2 separate regions of the Homo sapiens genome follow, and region 2 is linked to region 1. The links are contacts of gene promoters, found by promoter capture Hi-C in blood cells and fetal thymus (Javierre and others, 2016). All regions are on one chromosome and are shown on one strand. The core of a region is centred on a gene start or on the middle of the fragment in contact, and the rest is flanking DNA. Distances in the headings are between cores, read along the strand shown. Region 1 holds the start of TMBIM4 (transmembrane BAX inhibitor motif containing 4). Region 2 overlaps PRICKLE1 (prickle planar cell polarity protein 1).

Region 1 (7,314 bases), core at 2,194-4,693:
TATAAGTCATTAGAGAATTACAAGTTAAAGCAACAAGGAGATGCCACTACACACCTATTAAATGGTCAAAATCTAAAACACTGATATCATCAAATGCTGACGAGTATGTGGAACCAACAAGAACTCTCATTCATTGCTGGTGGAAGTGCAAAATAGTACAGCCACTTTGTAAGACAGCTTGGTGATGTCTTATGAAACTAAACATTCTCTTACTATACAACACGGCAATTGTGCTGCTTGGTATTTACCCAAATGAGTTGAAAACTTATGTCCACACAAAAACCTGCACATGGATGTTTACAAAGCAGCTTTATTGACAAAACTTGGAAGCAGGCAAGATTTCCTTCAGTAGGTGAATGAATAAACTGTAATGCATCCAAACAATGGAATAGTATTCAGCACTAAAGAAAAATGAGCTATCAAGCCATGCAAAGACATGTAGAAAACCTTAAACGCATATTATAAGTGAAAAAGGCCAATTTGAAAGGTTACATGATAATTCCAACTATACAGCATTTGGGAAAAGACAAAACTATGGAGACAATAGAAGATCAGCAGGAAGGGAGGGATGAACAGGCAGAGCACAGAGGAAGGCAGTGAAACTATTCTGTATGATACTATCATGGTGGATACATGTCATTAAACATTTGTCAAACTCATAGAATATACAACACTAAGAGCGAACCTTAACGTAAACCTTGGTCTTGGGTGATAATGAGGTGTCCAGTCTAGGTTCACTGATTGTAACAAACATACCACTCTGGTACAGAACGTTATTAGTGCAAGAGGCTTGGGGAAAAGCAGAAAGGGTATATAAGAACTCTGTTCTTTCTGCTAAATTTTGCTATGAACCTAAAATTGCTTTTAAAAAATTAATTGGGCAAAGGACTTGAATAACATTTCTCCAAGGAAAATGTATAAATGCCCCACACGCATACTTTTAAAATGTGCAACATCATTAAATCATTAGAGAAATGCAAATCAAAACCAAAAGGACATACCACCTCACACTCATTTGATGGCTATTTTCATTTTAAAAAGAAAGAAAAGAACGGAATGTGTTGGCAAGGATGTAGAAAAAGGTGAACCCTTGTGCACTGTTGCTGAGAATGTAAAATGATGTAGCCCCTATCAAAAACAGTATGGCCGTTCCTTAAATAATTAAAAATAGAACTACCACACAATCCAGCAATTCCACTTCTGGGTATATATTCAAAAGAATTAAAGCACGGTCTTGAAGAGGTATGTGCACACCTATATTCATGACAGCACTATTCAAAGTAGTCAAGAGGTAGAAGCAACACAAATGTCCATCAATGGATGAATAAACAAAATTTGGTATATACATACAAAGTACTACTACTGTCTTAAAAAGGAAATTCTGCAGCCAGGTGCAGTGGCTCATGCCTGTAATCCCAGGACTTTGGGAGGCTGAGGTGGGAGGATCGCTTGAGTCCAGGAGTTCAAGATCGGATGGGGCAACATGGAGAAACCCGTCTCTACCAAAAGTACAAAAAAATTAGCCAGGCCTGGTGACCTGCATTTGTAATCCCAACTACTCGAGAGGCTGAGGCGGGAGGATCACCTGAGCCCAGAAGGTAGAGGCTGCAGTGAGCAGTGATCTCACCACTGCACTCCAGCCTCGGTGGCAAAGCGAGACCCTGTCTCAAAAAAAAAAAAAAAGGAAATTCTGACATATGCCACAACATGGATGTATTTGAAGACATTATGCTAATTGAAAAAAGCCAACCACAAAAAAACAAATACTGATTGTATCTAGAGTAGCCAAATTCACAGAGAGAGAAAGTGAAATGGTGGTTCCAGGGACTGGGGGAAGGAAGGAATGGGGAGTTAATAGGTATAGAGTTTCAGTTTTGCAAGATTAAAAAGTTCTGGATATTGGATGGTATATAAGTTTAGTCTAAAGCTATGCCTTTAGATATTTTAAGTTCAGCCTAGGGGTTCTCGGTATATAGTGAACTATAACCTAGTAAACAGGCTGTAACCTACGCTTGAACCAATCACTGAGTTTCAGCCAAAGATGGCCACGTGTTCAAACCATGTTCAAACGGGCAAAAACCAAGCTGTAACCAATCAACTCTTTCTGTACCTCACTTCTATTTTCTGTACCTCACTTTACTTTCTCTCTCCATAAATTTTCTCCCACCAAGCGGCAGGACTCATCACTCTGAACCTTATTCTGGTTCCGGGACCTGCCCAATTCGCAAATCATTCTGTGCTCAAACTCCGTTAGATTTAATGTGTCTAAAGTTTTTCTTTTAACAGTGCACAACCATGTGAATAACTTAACACTACTGAACTATACACTTAAAAATAGTTAAGACGGTAAATTTTATGTTACCTGTATTTTACCACAATTAATTTTTTTTAAAAAAAAGCTGAGTTCACTGGCCAAAATAATTTCAAAATTCAATTCCAAAAATATAAATGCTAGGCACCAAGATTCTTGGTGCATCAGAACTATCTTCATCTTTCCTTTTCCAGAACAAGTTCTAGGCACTAAGATTCTTAGCACATCAGAACTATCTTCATCTTTCCTTTTCCAGAACAAGTTCCAGCTGCCTAAACAGGCTGAAAGTCTGGGGCTGTTTCGGCGATCAAATGACCAAACTAGAGCAGGCAATGGCTTCCACGTAGATGAAGCTGAGCATTTTAAATTCAAAAATTTCTGCCCATTGGCTACTACGTAATAACTTAAAACACAATTTAGACTGACTTAGGAAGCTTCTGTGTTGAGCAACTTCCTCAATAATCCTCAAAGACCTGTTGCATTCTGGGCCCTGCGGAGAGGAAATAGTGCCGTCAGGGAGCTTCCAGCCTAGCACAGGACGGTAAATATAAGCCTGTAACGCGAAACCCCACAGAACAAAAACATCAGGCCGTGGATTCCACTCGTGTGTACGTCAGTCACAGTGATCAACCGACTCATTTCCACGACGTTTCTTTTCACTTCAAGATGCCAAATTCAGGCTGCGGCGGTTTCCATCTGTCCCTTCCTACACCGCGGCGCCCGCTGGGGAGCCGGGGCGCACACAGGACAGCCGCAAGCCTTCTGGGCCTGGCGCCCTCCCACACCCGCTAGGAGGGGAGGAAGCGCCTCCCCGACTCCCTGAGGAGGGCGCCAGTCCTCTGGTACCCGGAGAAGGAGGGCCGGGAGCTCAGTGAGCACTCCCTGTGAGTCCCAGGAGATGGCCGCTCTCCCTCGGAAGCCGGAAGTCGGCTTCTAGAGGCCGAGCAGTGCAGACAAGCGGCTGGGAGGCACTGGAGAGGGGACAACGTACCCATTCGGATGTGCACGGTGGCGGAGGCCACGCTGCTGCCATAGTTGAAGTCGTCCTCGATCGAGGAGCGAGGGTACCGGGGGTCGGGGTCAGCCATGATGGCAACAGCACCCCTACCGGTCCCGGTCCACTAACCGCAACCGCCTCCTCCCCACTTCCGCGAGGAAGAGCCCAGCCCCAGCAAGCCGTGCGGCGTCGGCGGGCGAACACCGAGCGAGTCGATTTTCTCGCTTCAAAAATTCCAGCTGGGCGGAGAAAGCGGGGATGGCTCCGAGTTAGAATGGAAGAGAAAACGGTTTACATTCCCGGCGTCATCTGAAGTGAAACTTTTCTCAACACACTTTTTTTTTTTTTTTTGAGATGGAGTTTCACTCTTGTTGCCCAGGCTGGAGTGCAATGGCACGATCTCGGCTCACCGCAACCTCCGCCTCCCGGGTTCAAGCGGTTCTCCTGCCTCAGCCTCCCGAATAGCTGAGATTACAGGCGCCTGCCACCACGCCAGGCTAATTTTTTTATATTTTTAGCAGAGACGAGGTTTCACCATGTTAGCCAGGATGGTCTCGATCTGCTGACCTCGTGATCCGCCCGCCTCGGCCTCCCAAAGTGCTGAGATTACAGGCGTGAGCCACCGCGCCCAGCCTGAACACACTTTAAGTCCTTTCACCTTGGAGAGTTGCTAAAGTGATAGAACCCATGTCCCAGTCACCCATCCACTCAACAAATACCCATCTCATTCATCCACTTTTTCAATAATCACACCGAGGATGCATTTTTACTTCTATTATTTTAAAATAATAATAATACCTACATTTATTGAGCACTTTCTATAAACCAGGCTTTCTGAATGAAGTAATATTTAATCCTGAAAGGCAAGTAGGAGCCAACCAGAGAAAGAGCAGTGATGTAGGCTGGGCCTCAAGGGACCAACGTCTGCAAAGAGGGAGACGGTGAAGCTCAGCTGGTGTAGGGGACAGGTGGCAAAGAATGAGGCTGGATAGATAAACAAAGGCCAGATCATCCTAGGCCAGAAGTAGAATACATTGAAGAGGGCCATTACCAAAGGCAGAGAAAAGGGGATAAAGTTGTATTACTGTAAGAGAGAGATGATGGTGGCAAATACAATGGATTAGAGTGAATATTCATGATATTGTTGTCATTCCAATATAAAGAGGTGTAGACATACCCAGAGTAGTGTCATCCTAGGGTCCCTTGGAATTGTTTTGATGAGTTTACTCTGATCTACCCACATTGCCCAGTCCTCACCTTAACCACAACACCCGAACACTTAGCAAGTGGAATTCAGAACAGTTGTGGAACAGTCTATTCTAAACTAAATCCTTAAACTTGATGTTCTCAGAAGCCTTTGCCAAAAGAACTAACGTCACTTCCACAATGACAAGAAAAACAAAACAAAACAAAAAAACACTTTATCTTTTATGATTTTACAAACATTTTACAAGCATATCATTTTAATTTGTTTTTGTTGGTTTGTTTTGAGATAGAGTCTCAGTCTGTCACCCAGGCTGGAGTGCGGTGGCTCTATCTCGGCTCACAGCAGCCTTGACCTCCTGAGGTCAGGTGACCACCCCCGGGTAATTTTTTGTATTTTTTGTAGTGACGGAATTTCGCCATGTTGCCCATGCTGGTCTCGAACTTGGGCTCAAGTGATCCCCCTACCTCGACCTCCCAAAGTGCTGAGATCACAGGCGTTAGCCACTGTGTCCGGCCCCTCGTTTTAGTTTAGTTTGTTGAATGGATAGGTGAATGGGATATGGCCTCTATCTCTTTAGTCACTCTCCAGGTGAGAGGACTTAAAAAGCTTGCTGAGAAAAATCTGAGAAAAGTTTTACTTCAGATGACACTGGGAATGTAATCCGTTTTCTCTCCCATCCTAACCCGAAGCCATCCCCTCTTTCTCTGCCCCGCCGTAATAATGGAATTTATTATAGAGGACAAACTGGAGCTAAATTGGGAACCCACCTTTGTATTGACTAAAAACAGCATCAGCAAAGTTTGATCCTTTACCTCTTACCAGTTACAAAAAAAAATAAATTCCAGATAGATTGTGGATATAAATGTGAAAGGCAAAAACAATAAAACTTAAAGAAAATGATACAGGAGAATATGATTTGGAGGAAGGCAAAGATTTCTGAAACCAGATACAAAATAGCACTTAACTTCAAATGAAAAGATTGCCAAATTAAATTATATTAAAATTAGGAATTTCTAGTAATCAAAATATACCATAAGAGAGTGAAAAGGAAGCCATAGAGTAGGGGAAGATATCTGCTATACATATAACCTACCTAAGGCTCCTTTTCAGAATATAAAAACAATTGTTACAAATCCAGACCAAAAAAAGACAGTCAATAGAAAAATAGACAAAAGACTGGAGGCGGGCGCAGTGGCTCATGCCTGTAATCCCAGCACTTTGGGAAGCTGAGGCGGGTGGATCACCTGAGGTCAGGAGTTCGAGACCAGCCTCAACGTGGAGAAATCCCGTCTCTACTAAAAATACAAAATTAGCCAGGCATGGTGGTACATGCCTGTAATCCCAGCTACTCGGGAGGCTGAGGCAGGAGAATTGCTTGAGCCTGGGAGGTGGAGGTTGTGGTGAACCAAGATCGCGCCATTGCACTCTGGCTTGGGCAACAAGAGCGAAACTCCACCTCAAAAACAAAAAAAAAGAAGGAAAAAAGACTGAAACAGGAACCTAACACACACACACACACACAGCCAAGTGGCTAATATATGAAAAGTTGATCAGAGAAATGTAAATAAATGCCAAAATTAGATATCTCTAAGCACCCACCAAATGATTAAAATTAAGAGATTGATAATATCAAGTGTTGGCAAAACTGGATTATCTAGAACTCAAATAAGAGCTGACTTAAAAGGTGTGCAACCTATGCTATTGCACAGAGCCCTGGACTCCGAAGGACTCTGCACTTGGTTTAATGCTCAGCTGTCACCATTTTGAAATACTTAGTAATTTTGCCTTTGAACATGTGTTTTGTAAGTGAAGTCTGAAAGTACAATGGAACATGAACATGAATAGAAGAGGTATGCACAATGTGGATGTCCACTGTTTCCTGCCAATCATTTGCATTTAAGCATTTAGCATGCCCCATGAGCTCAGAATTCTGTTAGACCTGCAATGTTTGGGAGTTAAGCTAGACTCAAAGCTAGTAAAAGATAAGCATGTCACACTTGTGACTTAGTAAAGGGAAGAGAAGAGAAGGCACAGACAGCCCCAAGAGGCCTAGCTTTCCTTACCGAGGAGAACTTACTTTGAATGCAGAAGGAAAGCAATGACGTTTTAAGAAACATGAATGACCAAGGAATCTTTTCACATCCTTTTTTTTTTCTTAATAGGGTCTTGTTCTGTTGCCCAGGTTGGAGGGCAGTGGTGCAATCATAGCTCTCTGCAAACTCCTGGGCTTAAGGGCTCACCCCATCTTAGCATCCTTAGTAGCTAAGACTACAAATGCATGCCACCATGCCCAACTAATTTTTTTTTTCCGAGATGGAGTTTCCCTCTTGTCCAAACTAGAGTGCAATGGCGCAGGTCTCAGCTCACTGCAACCTCCGCCTCCCGGGTTCAAGCAATTCTCCTGCCTCAGCCTCCCAAGTACCTGGGATTATAGGCATCCGCCACCACTCCCGGCTAACTTTTTTGTATTTTTTGTAGAGACTGGGTTTCACCATGTTGGCCAGGCTGGTCTCAAGCTCCTGGCCTCAGGTTATCCGTCCACCTCAGCCTCCCAAGTGCTGGGATTACAGACGTGAGTCACCGTGCCCGGACCTAATTTCTTAAATTTTATGAGACAGGGTCTTGCTGTGTTTCCCAGGCTGGTCTTGAGCTCCTGGCCTCAAGCAATCCTCCAGCCTTGGCCTCACAAAGCTCTGGGATTACAGGCTGTCACATCCTTTTTTTTTTTTTTTTTTTTTTTTTTGAGATAGAGTGTTGCTCTATTGCCCGTCTGGAGTGCAGTGGCGCGATCTCGGCTCA
Region 2 (7,314 bases), core at 1,793-4,292, about 24 Mb before region 1:
CACAACTACTGCAAGTAACAAGAATCAACTCTCTGTTCATTTGTCAAAGCTCATCAGCTGGAACATTTAAGATCTGTACATTTCATTGTATGTAAATTATATCTCAACTTTAAAAAACAGAAAAAGAAAAAATAAGACTGGATAATCCAAGACAGACTAATGGCTAGGTGACAGGGCAGACGGGCTGGCTGTGGACTTACCAATATGTTCCCCACAGGTTTCACAGTACTCCGCATAGAGAGACTCAAAACAGCCACAGCAGAAGGGGCGGCCGTCCTTCATGATATACCTCTGTCCTCCCAGGACCGTTTCACACTCAAGGCAGCAGAAGTGTTTCATGTGCCAATGGCGACCCTCAGCTTCTGTGCACTCATCAGCAAAAATTATCTTCAAAAAGAAATGTGAAACCAGAGAATGAAAGAAAATCATTAGGAACTATTTTAAAGGCCAAGTAACTGCATGTTTTCCGGGCAATGGACAGACACTGGCTCTTAAAAAAATCAGATAGCTAACCTTGTTTCTTAGAGTCACAAGCTTAAATCTAACACTTGATTTAGCTACAAACTAGAGCATAAATTGACAGTGCTGAGAAAACAAACTAAATAATAAATGCTTGCTTTGACTTTAAAAAAACAGAATTCTACACCGGAGGTAATTCATTTGGTCATATTTTTGCTCCCCAATAACATTTTCTTGGCATAATCTGGCAAAGAACACATTAACACGGAAATAATTTAGTGAAATAATTTGGTGTTTTAGTAGAAAGAAAACTCATAAAAATGTCTGTGGACTCAACACAGTTATAGCTACACAGATGCTGGAATTGAGTGAACAGCATTTGTGTTGATAATGCTTTATTTGACTTGGTGGCCATCTCTAGATTAAGGACTCTTTATTTTTTTGAGACAGGGTCTCACTTGTAGCCCAGGCTGGAGCACAGTGGCACAATCATAGCTCACTGCAGCCTCAAACTCCTGGGCTTGAGCGATCCTCCCACCTCTGCCTTCTGAGTAGCTGGGACCACAAGGGCACAACCACCATGCCCAGCTAATTTGAAAAACATTTTGGGACAGAGACGGGGTCTCACCATGGGGTCTAGTCTGGTTCTTTTTTTATTTTTATTTTTATTTTTTATTTTTTTGAGACAGAGTCTCGCTCTGTCACCACGCTGGAGTGCAATGGCGTGACCTCGGCTCACTGCAACCTCCGCCTCCTGGGGTTCAAGCAATTCTCCTGCCTCAGCCTCCTGAGTAGCTGGGACTAAAGGTGCATGCCACCATGCCCAGCTAATTTTTGTATTTTCAGTAGAGACGGGGTTTCACCATGTTTGCCAGGATGGTCTCTGTCTCTTGACCTCGTGATCTGCCCATCTCGGCCTCCCAAAGTGCTGGGATTACAGGCGTGAGCCACCGAGCCCGGCAGGTTCTTTCATTTTTTTTATATTTTTGGTTTCCAAAATATGTTCAGCGGAGCATGGTGGCTCACCCTGGTATTCCCAGCATTTTGGGAGGCTGAGGGAGGTGAATCTCTTGGGGTCAGGAATTCGAGACCAGCCTGGCCAACATGGTGAAGCCCGCCTCTACTAAAAATACAAAAAAAAAAATTAGCTGGGCGTGGTGGTGGGCACCTGCAATCCCAGCTACTCGGGGGGCTGAGGTGCAAGAATCACTTGAACACGCGGGGCGGAGGTTGCAGTGAGCCAAGATTGCACCACGGCACTCCAGCCTGGGCAACAGAGAGCAACTCCATCCCAAAAAAATAAATCAAAACAAAACAAAAACAAAAATATGTTCAAATAGAACATTGTTGAAAAAAATGTATAAAGTAAATGAATGTATAAAAATAAAAACAAAGTTTATTGTCATAGATTGAAGGAGACTAAGAAGATACAACGAGTAAATGCAATGAAGCACCCTGGATTGATCTTGGATAAGAAAAGGAGCATCTGTTAAAACACTGGGAAAATCTAAACAAAGACTATGGTTTAGTTAATGGTATTACACTGCTGATAATTTCTTAGTTTTGATACATATATTATGGTTATGTAAGACGTTAGTGTCAGGGGAAGCTGGGAGAAGGGCATGCAGGATCTCTCTGTAATAGCTTTGCAACTCTTCTGTAAATCTAAAATTATTTTAAAATAAAAAGCTAAAGGGAAAAAATTTTTCCTTTCAAGCCATCATCCATTCCCACCTTCCCCGAGGGTAACTACTATTAATTTGGTATTTGTCTTTCCATACCTTTTCTGAGCATAAACAAATACATATATCATATTGTTTTTTAAATTCTTAACAAAAATGAGACCATCTACTACATGCTCTTCTGCAGCTTGTATTTTCTCACAACCCACTGAAGACATAATACTTATCAAAGTACAAAGACATCTGCTTCCCTTTCTATCAGGAAGGTGAAAAATTAATTGCGGTTTTGACCATTATGGCAAAAAACCGCAATTACTTTTGCAGCAACCAAATATAGATCATTTCATTGTATGAATGTACAGGATTATGTTTAAAACATGCACACAGAACAAAATCCAGGAAATTTTAGTATTTTGCTTGATGTAAACAGTGGAATATTGGCTTAATCTAAGCTTATTTTTCCCAGTGTGAAAGGATGAACTTTTTTTTACCTCGTCACATGCTGAGCACCGTGGTTTGAGCAGTTCTGCATGGTGCCTGCCACAGTGAATTTTTCCATCCTGATAAAAATAGATGAGGTCGACCAGCAGCTCATTACACGTGAAACAGACAAAACAGGATGGGTGCCAGCACACACCAGGGCCCGCACGGGAGGCGAACACTGCAACTTCACCTCCATTTATCTTCAAACCACACTACAAACAAATGGGTTTGAATGTAAAAGGATCATTTTTTAAAGACAGGATTCTCAGGCTTTCCTACTTTAGGATAAATCTCGAATTTGTCAGGAATGTATTTATTTTTGCTACCTCTTTTAGTGATTAAATAGCTCTTTAATGCTGGATTACTGGTGATTCTCCACTGTAAGGCACGTGTCTCAGACATACTACAACTATTTCTAAGGACGGTGTAATCTGATTCACACAAATAGTGGTTTTCCTGTGCCAGCCTCCTGCTGGATACATTTCCTACTCTGAGAACTGCCAGCAAAGATCTGAATGTCTTCATTATGTTTCTGCATCTTTTGAATACGAGATGTATCCTAGCACCTACCTCCATGCCAGGATCCTACCAAAGGCAGGATTTCACCCAATGTTTGCATAAGGGTGACTGACTCCTGCTGTCATACACAGCAGTGTAGCTAGTTACAAATATGAAACATGATTTGCTATTTAATAAAAAGCTAGGCTGTCTTTCTCTCATTTTCTGGAGGCTTTCAGGACCCACACCTCTGCTAGTCCAGTCACCTACCCCCGACTGTCCACCCCATCCACATCACTGCCACAAGCTACGCATCAGAGAAGGGGCTGCTCACCTGCTCACACACAGCATGCATGACTGCTCTGGACAGAAGCTTAATTGTTCCTCTTCCCAGTGCTTCTTTCTTCCGCTGAGCACTGAACACCTGCAACTCTTTTTTCTCCTCTTCACTCAAAGACTGGCAATACCGTACCTTCACAGAAAGCAAAACAGAAACACCACACTGAGTGCACAGTCTTTCTCACCAGTTCTCTACTTCCAGAGTTAGGGTTTCAGGAAGTGAAACAGTAAGTTTAGCTCGCCTGTGTCACACCCCCACGATTTTAAAATGACACCATATCTGAATTTTACAGCCTCTCTAGAAAAAGGGAAATGCAATGTGAAGGAATACTTTTTTTTTAAATAAGAAATGTTTAATTGAAAACCCTTATCAACACAGAATTAAAAAATATATATAGGACATTAACCTTTCCACAAAAGGTTTAAACTTGTTAATTGCCACTTTTACTCTCCATTCTACATGCACTCAACTCAACTGCAGGCCTGAATGACCATAAAGCATTCACTCTGGATGCAGGGGCTGGGAAATCTCAGGAATTTGTAGGTTCCTGATCATTGGTGGGTGGCTGCAAACACTATAAAAACCAACTTGTGTTAAGTTTATTACACTGATACTCTTTTCTCTCTTTCTCTCAAAGAATGGAAAGCTGTATTCTCTGGCCAAATTTTAACTAAAGAAAGGCAAAAGGGAGCCCTCGCCAGTGAGGAGTTGGGGTTTATGAGCAGCATCTCAATGCTTCTCATGCATTTTTTCTTCTTTTTTCTAATTAGCCTTCTTCCTGCTATTTTACCTCATTATCATGTGGTGGTAACTGGTACAAAAGCTGTTTAATCCGATGCTTCTCTCCGGGGCTGTTAACGTAAGGAACTTTTTCCTCTGGTAAGCAAGCAAAATAGAGCTGGATCTGCAAAAGAGACAGTGAGAATGGCATCAACATACAGAACTGAGCATCTCAGCTCACTTAATCTTTAAAAGTTACCTTTCCCTAGGTACAGGGTTTGGCCTCTTGTAGCTAATGAGAAGACCAGCTGAGCCAACTCAGCAGAACTGCAAACCTTCAGATAACTAGCACCCAGCTGCTAAATTGCTCTTCAGGAATGTAATTTGTAGTGACAATTAGGGACATCATAAATTATGCACCATAAAATATGCACATTTAAGACCACTCTTCCCGGTGGTGTGGCTCACGCCTGTAATCCCAGCACTCTGGGAGGCTGAGGCTGGTGGATCACCTGAGGTCAGGAGTTCGAGACCAGCCTGACCAACACGGTGAAACCCTGTCTCTACTAAAACTACAAAAATTAGCTGGGCGTGGTGATGCACGCCTGTAATCCTAGCTACTCGGGAGGCTGAGGCAGGAGAATCGCTTGAACCTGGGAGGCAGAGGTTGCAGTCACCCAAGATCGCGCCACTGCACTCCAGCCTGAGTGACAGAGCAAGAATCCGTCTCAAAAAAAAAAAAAAGACTACTCCTCCTCAGCCAGTCTTCCAAGGGGTCAGACAAGAGATCAGCAAGAGAGAGAGTCCTGGGTGAATCCTGCAAATTACTACACAGACTGTGTGAAATGGTCCAAAATCCAGCCACTACACGAACACATTTAATTTGCTCTCTGAATTTTACACAACACAAAGACAAAGGCTGTTTTGCTAAATGTTGTAAACTCTTCTTTATCAGGTTCTCTCAAACATCAGCTTTCTTTGCTTCCATGAGTGCTATTTTCTGAATACCTGAAGTCAGCCTCCCCAGGCAAACTGGAGAGAAGCCACATTGAGCTGTACTTTGCTCACTCTGAAAGGAAAACTTAATTTCTGCTTGTTTGTTTTTCTGATGTCTTTAAAGGAACATCCCTTAATGAGTACTGCAAAGGATACTGCAGAGCTGAGAAGGAATAAAAGAAAAAAAAGACAGGAGACAGGAATTTAGGGCCTGTCTACTTCAATACCTTAGTACCACACAAAACCTACCCACTCTAAGTTGTAAGAAGGGATTCTCTCTAAGTAGTTTGTCAAAATATTGCTTTTCTAACTGCTTCACCAGCACTCCACCCTCTCCCCATTCTATCAGCTCTAGAAGCTTTTTACAGTTATAAACACTTACTGAATATCAGCTACATGCGTGCCAGGTACTGTGCTATGCCATGGATAAATAAGGATACCCTATTCTCATAAAACGTCCCACCCTACAGGAAACAGAACCCTAACATCAGAAGCAAAGCAACCACATACCCCACTGTCAACTTTATTTTCAAATGATGCCTCTGCTCTTTTAATAATATCGCCAGTGATTTTCAACAAGTTAATCATTGTAAAGATATTGGGAAAATTAAATAGGCATATGGAATGTTCTCATCTTCCCTAAAATAACAATACAAACAAAGCATAAAATTAACTCTTTAATTTTTTTTCCAATCCCTGTGGTGTAAGTGACAGGCTCTTTTATATGCAAAGTTATCAAAGGTCAAACGTCTAAGCAGTAACACTTCAGAGGGTTTCTGATAGCTCACTATCTCGCTTCCAAAGCAAAAGCATTGCTGAGAACTGGCATGGAAACTTTTCTCTTTTCTTTTATTGCCTTTTTGTTGTCACAGAAGTTTTTTAAAAGGGAAATTCCTCTCACTCTCAAGAGGGATTCATCCGAAATACACATAACCAATGCATATGTAGTACTCTGGATTTCATTCATTAGAGCAAAAATGGGATCCTTATGAGGCTTCTGGAACCATGGGTACGACGAGATTGGAAACTTCCATTGAGAAACTAAATATGACCTTCAAAAGTAAAACTTCAAAGCCATACAAAGAAGAATAAGGACTGAGGAGGGTGGTATTCCAGCATCTCAGTGATGTTCTATCCATTTACAAAATAATGTTCTAAAGTCTGAACTCACACTGAAAAACAAAGAGTAAATATAGGATGATGAAGTTCCTACCTGCTCTGGTCTCAGGCCCGGGGGGACCCAGGCGTACTCCTCCAATGCACAGCCAGAGTCATCATCTGATGTGGAACTTCTCTGACAGCCAAAGGCCAGTTTGCTCATCTTGGGCTCCATCTCCAAAGGCATAAAGTTTAAAGCCTGGTTTCTCAGTCACAGGACATCAAACAATGGCTGCTGTGAACAATATAAGAAAAAACAAAGACATCTAAAACCTGAATGCATTTCTCTTACCCCCGACCCAGAGCTTTTATTGAATGCTGTTAACAGACAGCTGGGCCCAGAGAAAGTAACCAAATTACTACTGTCACCACCCCCAGGCCCCAGGCCCCCTGAAATTTAAAATTTAGAGCTATATAATTTGGTAGTAGTCTCTTTGCCAGCTCAGAATTTCAGAACATGCCACCAAAGCTAGTTTATTTCCAGGAGCCTTTAAAAGGTGCCTCTCTACAGTCGATTCCTTAGAAAAGTTCTCAAGAAAGTTGATGTGTTGACTTTCTAACTTGCCCACAAATCCTTGTGACATACTGTAAGTTGTAGAAAGAAGTGTCGGGGTCAGGCTACCTGCCTTGCCCACTACTATGCCCCAGGAAAAATGGCTCAAGACCCCACTCGGCACCCCTGTATTTCCTAAGCAATTTTTCCAACTGAGGCAGTGCTGCCTCCTGAGAGTGGGTCCACTCAGCCAAACTGCTTAGGTTTCAGATTTCTAATTATGTTTTGTAAGACACTAAACTGAGTTTACACACAAAATAGAAATAGCACAATTAAATCCTTATACTGCACATTAAATCCTCAAGCCTTTACTAAGGGCTAAAGTCAGTCAGACATTCATCAGTGAGTTCCTTCAACAAACAGTCACTGAATACAGTACTATGTGAAAATAAAATCCAGCTTGGTGACTGTTAATGTTTAATTGC

Evidence for each region. Contacts are between HindIII fragments. The CHiCAGO score rates a contact against its expected background, and 5 or more counts as called.
Region 2: a fragment that was not itself captured here is called in contact with the fragment with the promoter of TMBIM4 in region 1 in 1 of 17 cell types (total B cells); the score reaches 5.6 in total B cells.

The regions. Positions count from the first base shown.
Region 1 is chr12:66,166,553-66,173,866 of GRCh38, forward strand. It overlaps TMBIM4 (transmembrane BAX inhibitor motif containing 4), which reads right to left and starts at 3,444. Exons shown (of 7, transcript NM_016056.4): 1 at 3,303-3,444. The coding sequence starts at 3,399. RefSeq lists enhancers at 2,596-2,695, 3,178-3,702, 3,346-3,425 and a silencer at 6,424-6,624. The HindIII fragment of the contact is 2,376 bases long and covers 2,744-5,119 here.
Region 2 is chr12:42,465,994-42,473,307 of GRCh38, forward strand. It overlaps PRICKLE1 (prickle planar cell polarity protein 1), which reads right to left. Exons shown (of 8, transcript NM_153026.3): 2 at 6,392-6,571; 3 at 4,253-4,366; 4 at 3,457-3,594; 5 at 2,633-2,836; 6 at 201-387. The coding sequence starts at 6,523. Among named protein-coding and RNA genes, the nearest start is that of PRICKLE1, 120 kb to the right of the region's middle. RefSeq lists enhancers at 3,511-3,610, 3,621-3,670. The HindIII fragment of the contact is 902 bases long and covers 2,592-3,493 here.